2 separate regions of the Homo sapiens genome follow, and region 2 is linked to region 1. Evidence: promoter capture Hi-C in human tissues and cell types (Jung and others, 2019). All regions are on one chromosome and are shown on one strand. Each heading gives the region's core, a stretch centred on a gene start or on the middle of the fragment in contact. The rest is flanking DNA. Distances are from core to core; before and after follow the strand shown. Region 1 holds the start of GCFC2 (GC-rich sequence DNA-binding factor 2). Region 2 has its middle 99 kb from the start of GCFC2.

Region 1 (3,712 bases), core at 305-2,804:
AACTTTAGACAAATAGAAGGTCACAAGAAAGACCAAGAAATCACGAAGATCATAAACCTGGAGGACATTATGTTACATGAAATAAGACAGGCACAGAGAGACAAACACCACATGATCTCACATATGTAATCTAAAAAAGTGGAAATCAGAAATCACAGAAGCAGAGAGTCGAGTAGTGGTTAGAAGGGACTGAGTGAGGTTGAGGGTAGTTGGGAAGATACTGGTCAAAGGGCACACATTTTAATTAGACAAGAGGAATTCTATTCTACAACACGGTGACTAAAATTAATAACAATGCATTGCATACTTGAAAATTAGTAAGAGTAGATAGTAAGTGTTCTCACCACAAAAAAAAGTAAGTACCTAAGGTAAAGCAAATGTTAATTAGCTCCATTTAGTCACTGTAGACACATTTCAAACATCATGTTGTACACTATAAGTATATACATTTTTTACTTCTCAATAAATTAATAAAAATCACTTTAATGACAATAAAAAATAATAGGAAGATTTTAGCTCTCAAGACTAACCAAAAACCGTATTCCTCATTAAGCTACAATTCCAACTCAGAGCAGCACATTTTATTTAAACAACTTTATGCTGCCTTACACCTGTATTTAAGAACTCAAAGGTACTTCAAAATGACGACACTATATCTAACACCATTACTGGTACCATCTACAGTGTCATGAATCTCTATCATGCTTCTTTGTGTTGTATATATTACTATTAGTTTTTGCAAATAACTGGTGAAAAAAGAAAATAAACAAAGGGGAATGTCCCAAAACCTAGATTCCTGTACTACTCTGGCTAAATGTTTTCAAGAAAGATAAGTTGGTCAAGTGTCTAAAAGGTACATATAACTTCTGCCCACTTAATAGTATTATAAATTATTGAACTTTGTTGTGACAGTTTAGGTTCTTCATAAACTTTGATAACTGTGTTAGTTATAACTGATGGAGTCAACTGATGGTGAAAACGAAGAGCCTCCCAACTGTACACGATTGTTTTATTTCCCCCAAGGAGTCCAAAAGGCAGATGCAGATAGCGGGCAAGTGCTCGAGCTATTTTCTCGCTCACTACCTTCTGGATAAGTCTTTCTGGATAAGACTCAGCATGGCTTGTGGTCGGCAGCAAGTTATAGAACCCCCAGAGAAGGATCCAGAGACCCCGCGGCCCCTTCCCGCCCTGTGCCGTCACCTCCCCGCTTCCCCGCGTCTCCCTGGACACCTGAGCCTTCGTCCGCGCGGGGAGCCGCTTTGGTGGCACGCCGGGAGCTCGCCCAGACCCGGCCCCGGCCACGAGGGCCCCGAACCCGGTGGGGCAGTCCCGCCACCTGCGCGCGGCCTCCTCCAGAGGGCGGCTCTTCCTCCGCAGAACCCGGGACCGGAAGTTCCCTCGGCGCCCCAGGCTCAGCAGGCGACTCCTCGGCGCCATCGCTGTCGCTGGAATCAGCCGCGCGCTGCCGAAAAGTCCTTTTCGGCCTGTGAGCCATGGCCGAGGCCCGAGCGCCCGGCGCCCTAGAACCCGCTGAACCGCAAGCCGCAGCTTCAGTGCCCGCCCCCTAGGGCGCGCTCCCGCCGCGCCTGGCCGCCGAGTGCGCGCGCCCGTCCCGCCTGCCTTCTGCTCACCGCTACTCTGTCTGCGCCTGCGTGCTTTGGCTCCCTGGATCTGGTAGGCCGAGTTCTGTTCTGGGGCCTGAGTTTGCAAAGCATTCCCTTTGCCAGGTTAGGTTGCGTGGACTGACACCTTAGAGATTTTCACGGCCTATCCGGTCTGAGTCCCACGGAGAGCAGAACTCACGTGCTGTCCTTGTGCAAACCCCATCCAGAAATCAAGCGTTATGCTTTCCGTCCTGGACTGGAGCCAGATCCGTTGTCTTTTACTTTCTGGAGAGAGTGCCCCCTCCAACCAAGATTTAAAACAAACGAAACCCCAGCAGTGTGAGGCTCGGGGTAGGAGGAGATGCCTTTGAGAACAAAACCATAAAGTCTGTACATAAACAATGCATACAGACTAGCAAAAATCAAATGACTTCCCCCAGGCAGCAGGGCTTCAAGAGAGCCTGGTTAAATGTTTTCACCCTTAAAGAAACTATCTAAAAACAAAAAGCTATTGTCTGACGCAAATTTGTTCTATATTCATCAAGCTCTGTCTACTACTGTATCTGTATGGTAGAAATACTATATAATGTTGAGCTACTGCACACCTGTTATCAACTCCATGTTTAGTGGCGTCATATTGAGAGGTGACAGCGGGCCAGCTGGAGTTCCGGGTGGGCATGGGCTTGGCGGGCCTGCACTCGGAGCAGCCGGCCGGCCCTGCCAGCCCCGGGCAGTGAGGGACTTGGCACCCGGGCCAGCGGCTACAGAGGGTGTACTGGGTCCCCTAGCAGTGCCGGCCCACCGGCGCTGTGCTCGATTTCTCGCCGGGCCTTAGCTGCCTTCCCGCGGTGCAGGGCTCGGGACCTGCAGCCCGCCATGCCTGAGCCTCCCATCCACTCCATGGGCTCCTGTGCTGCCCGAGCATCCCCGACGAGCACCACCCCCTGCTCCACGGCGCCCAGTCCCATCGACCACCCAAGGGCTGAGGAGTACGAGCGCACGGCGCCGGACTGGCAGGCAGCTCCACCTGCAGCCCCGGTGCGGGATCCACTAGGTGAAGCCAGTTGGGCTCCTGAGTCTGGTGGGGACATAGAGAGTCTTTATGTCTAGCTCAGGGATTGTAAATACACCAATCAGCACTCTGTATCTGGCTCAAGGTTTGTAAACACACCAATCAGCACCCTGTGTTTAGCTCAAGGTTTATGAGTGCACCAATCGACACTCTGTATCTAGCTGCTCTGGTGGGGCCTTGGAGAACCTTTATGTCTAGCTCAGGGATTGTAAAAACACCAATCGGCACTCTGTATCTAGCTCAAGGTTTGTAAACCCACCAATCAGCACCCTGTGTTTAGCTCAAGGTTTGTGAGTGCACCAATAGACATTCTATCTAGCTGCTCTGGTGAGGCCTTGGAGAACCTGTGTGTGGAAACTCTGTATCTAACTAATCTGATGGGGATGTGGAGAACTTTTGTATCTAGCTCAGGGATTGTAAACGCACCAATCACGGCCCTGTCAAAACAGGCCGCTGGGCTCTACCAATCAGCAGGATGTGGGTGGGGCCAGATAAGAGAATAAAAGCAGGCTGCCCCAGCCAGCAGTGGCAACCCGCTCCGGTCCCCTTCCACAGTGTGGAAGCTTTGTTCTTTCGCTCTTTGCAATAAATCTTGCTACTGCTGACTCTTTGGGTCCACGTGGCTTTTATGAGCTGTAACACTCACCGTGAAGATCTGCAGCTTCATTCCTGAGCCCAGCGAGACCACAAACCCACCAGAAGGAAGAAACTCCAAACACATCTGAACATCAGAAGGGGCAGACCCCAGACGCGCCACCTTAAGAGCTGTAACGCTCACCGCGAGGGTCCGCAGCTTCATTCTTGAAATCAGTGAGACCAAGAACCCACCAATTCCGGACACAATATTGGCACCTTGAAATCAGCCATAAAGGGACTACTTATACCATATAAATTGGAAGACCTTAGAAGTCCAGGTGTTTCTCCCAGATATCCAGTCATTAAACATTTACCATTGTATCACTGACTATATGTCACCAAAGGAATCGAGAAGAGGCAAAGTTTCTCTGATTGACCTAGCCCCGGAATTTTTTTTTCT
Region 2 (3,755 bases), core at 527-3,026, 99 kb after region 1:
CCTCATACGTTGGGTAGCAGTCTACCTTGAGGAGGTGACACTTGAGCAGAAATGAGCCACAGAAATACAGGAGTGAGTGGGAGGAGGGAGCATTCCCGGAAGAGGGAACGACAGAGTCAAATGTCCTGGAGTGGGCATGTGCTTGATAAACTTGAAGAAGAGAAAGGAGGGTGGTGGGCTAGAGTAAAGTGAGTAAGGGCGAGAGGGGCAGGAAATGAGGCAACAGAGGGATGCAGAGGCCAGGTTATGTTGGGGTTATATTAATGTCTTTGTTCCCTGTGTGATGGAAATCTATTGTAGGGTTTTGAGTAGAAGCATGATATGAGCTAGTGCAGGTGGTAAGAGGATCTCTCTGGCTCTTGGCGGAGAGTAGACTGTGGAGGGGCAGGAGGGAAGCAGAAATACTGGTTGAACTGAACCTGAGTCAGAACATATGGAGTCCTACTCTTACACAGGTGTGTACAACCACAGCTTGTCTCTGGTTTCCTAGGGGAGTTTGCTTAGCTTAGGGTGAGGCATATAACATTCCTGGGATGCCTTGTATGACCCATAGCACTGTGTGCCCCTTCAGTGTGCCATATCTAAGCTGTGTTCCAGGCAGCGCTTGACAGCTGTTTACCTATTCCTCAAACTTCTTATGTCTCATTGTTATGCTTGCTGACTGACATGCCATACTGTATAACTTAAGCCTGGGCAAGTCTAATTGCCATGCATTTTTCATCCTTTTAAAATTAAAGCAAGTATATGTGTGTGTGTGTGTGTATAAATATATATATAAATATATATAAATAAATATATAAAAATAAATATAAATAAATAAATATAAATATATAAAAATAAATATAAATATATATAAATAAATATATAAATAAGTATATATAAATAAATATATATAAATATAAATAAATATATATGTGTGTATACATAAACATATATATGTGTGTGTGTGTGTGTATGTATATATATATATATATATCCCATGTTATTTTATGAGGCTTTCCTGCTCAGCTGTCAGTTTGACAGCTATGGTTCTTCTCGCAGTACCAGAAGCCTGGGTGGTGTGAGGAAGACCCCCTTGAGGGCTGATTAAAATCCCTGCCTGTGTCACCTGCCTGAAACAGAAGCCTAGTGCCTTCTGCCGTCAGGCAAAACACTTCCAACACTCAACATGAGGCACTGAGTTTCATTCTTTGGAATGAAATTTAAACCTGCATCTGCTGTAAGGTGTTTGGAATTTAGCCCAGCTGTCAGATTAGATCTAACTTCAATCGTGGTGAAATTGTGAAGTCAGTAAAGTTTGTATTTGGTGTCCTCGGATTACTTCTACTACTAATGCTACACACATCTACAATAAAAATAACCACTGTCATCACCACCACAGCAACAGCTAACTTTTTATTATGCCAGATGCTGTACATCCATGATCTCATTTAAACCTTTCAACAGCTTTATGAGACAGGTATTGTTATTATTTCCATTTGCAGAGGGGAAAATGGACACTTAGAGAAATAAATCACATGCCCAGGTAGCTGGAGTACTTGAGATCCAAATTTAGGCCAGCTTCCCTGAGTCCACATTCTCAATTACTATGCTGTGTGGCATCTAAGACTTCCTGTTTTTCTGCCTTGCCCATTTATTCAGTCACTCATTGTACCATATCGTTAGTTCCCTCTGGGTCCTTCTGTTCATGGCCTATAAAAACTTACTGAAAGAAAAGAATGTTCTGACAAGACATGTTCTAGAGCCTGCTCTGTTGCCTTCATAGATCTTTTTTCCCATTACCCCTCTTAACTATTATTTTGCAGATAAGCATATAAGGTTCCTTTAGGTTGGGTTCTCCAGAAGCAGACTCTGAGTTGAGGATTCCTGTGGAGGGGATTTATTGGGATATGTTCCTAGTAGGAGCGAAGAATTCGGGACTGGGAAGAGAAGAAGGTCACATAAGGGTACTCAGCTTTGGCTCAAAACCACGAAAGCCTCATAATCACTGTGGGTCTAACCTGGGAGGTGTCCTGTTTGCAAAGCAAGGTGATTGGGATATTTATATCCTCTGTACACAACAGGACAGACACTGACTAAGAGTTGCACACGGCCAGGTGCGGTGGCTCACGCCTGTAATCCCAGCACTTTGGGAGGCCGAGGCGGGCGGATCACAAGGTCAGGAGTTCGAGACCAGCCTTGCCAATATGGTGAAACCCTGTCTCTACTTAAAATACAAAAATTAGCCAGGCAAGGTGGCGGATGCCTGTAGTCCCAGCTACTCGGGAGGCTGAGGCAGGAGAATCTCTTGAACCCGGGAGGCAGAGGTTGTAGTGAGCCGAGATCAGGCCACTGCACTCCAGCCTGGGAGACAGAGCGAGACTCTCTCAAAAAAAAAAAAAAAAAAAAAAAAAAAAAAGAGTTGCACACGTCCTCAGCCCTTTAGGCTCTCTGTCAGCCTGAAGGCAGCCTCTGACAAAAAGATGGAGTGCAGGCCTTTGAGAAATAAGAACATAAGCCAGTCTGCACAAAAATGGAAAAAGGATGAGAAAAGAAATGAGCAGAGCCCTGGCAGCATCTTTCAGAGGCCTAATGAGAGGATATGAATTTCTTCAAAGTGGAAGAGCTGCAATTAAAACCCAGTTAATTCACTTCTAAGCCTGGGTCTTCGTATTTCTTCAGTGACAAGTAATACTGAGGTGTTTTGAGCAATATTTGCAGGAGACAATGGTAAGTCATAACCCCAGGAATTTGCAGGAGACATAGTGGCAAGTCCTAACCTCAAGAAGCTACTTCTATCTACAGGTAAAACAAATTAGGCAAAAGAGATTCAGCAATAGTCCTGCTTTGGGGTTCCTAGAGAAGCTTATACTCTCTCTCACTCTCTGTCTCTCTCTCTCTTCCTCCTTCCTCCCTCCCTTTTTCCCCTCCCTCCTCTCCTCCCCACCCTTCCTCTAAACAGCTTTGTTGAAATGTAATTTACATGTCATATAACTCATCTATTCAAAATATACATTTCAGTAGCTATTAATCTTTTCACAGAGTTGTGCAACCATCAACTCCATTTAATTTTAGAACATTTTCGTCACACGGAAGAAACCACCCTATCCATTGGTAGTCACTCCCTATTCCTTCTTCCACTGAGACCCTGACAACTACTAGTCTACTTTCCACCTGTGTGGATGTGCTGATTCTGGATATTTTATACAAGTGGAACCACGTAATATTGACTCTATGGGTCTGGCTTATTTCATTTAGCACAGTGTTGTCTGGGTTCATCCATGTTGTAGCGTGTGTCAGTACTTCATATTTTTAAAATGGCTGAATAATATTACATTTTGTGGGTAGTACATTTTGTTTATTCATGCGTCAGTCGATGTACATTTGGGTTGTTTGCCATGATGAGTAATGCTGCTATGAACATTCATGTGCAAGTTTTTGTGTGAACATTTGTTTCCTGTTTTCTTGGGTATATACCTGGGGTAGGATTGCTGGTTCTAATGCCAACACTAGGTTCAATTTTTGAGGAACTGCCAAACTGCTTCCCAAAGCAACAGCACCATTTTGCAGACCCAACAGCAATGCATGAGGGTTCTAATTTCTCCACATTCTTTGCCAACACTTGTTATTGTGTGTCTTTATACCCACAGGCATCTTAGTGGGTATAAAGTAGCATTTTGTTGTGGTTTTGATTTGCATTTCCCATTAGGAATGGAATGCTCGGCTTTTTTCATGTGCTTATTGGCCATTTTTGTGCCTTCCTGGAGAAATGACTA

What was found. The method cuts DNA at HindIII sites, captures the fragments that hold promoters and counts their contacts. A contact is called where the count stands out against the background at its distance.
Region 2: a contact is called between a fragment that was not itself captured here and the fragment with the promoter of GCFC2 in region 1, in 2 of the 25 tissues and cell types used here (H1 embryonic stem cells and small bowel).

The regions. Positions count from the first base shown.
Region 1 is chr2:75,709,361-75,713,072 of GRCh38, forward strand. It overlaps GCFC2 (GC-rich sequence DNA-binding factor 2), which reads right to left and starts at 1,555. Exons shown (of 17, transcript NM_003203.5): 1 at 1,231-1,555. The coding sequence starts at 1,495. LOC105374813 (a long non-coding RNA gene) reads left to right here and starts at 1,579. Exons shown (of 3, transcript XR_940260.2): 1 at 1,579-1,674. RefSeq lists a silencer at 1,087-1,386 and an enhancer at 2,365-2,936. The HindIII fragment of the contact is 14,441 bases long and covers 1-3,712 here.
Region 2 is chr2:75,807,746-75,811,500 of GRCh38, forward strand. No RefSeq gene overlaps it. Among named protein-coding and RNA genes, the nearest start is that of GCFC2, 99 kb to the left of the region's middle. The HindIII fragment of the contact is 7,265 bases long and covers 1-3,755 here.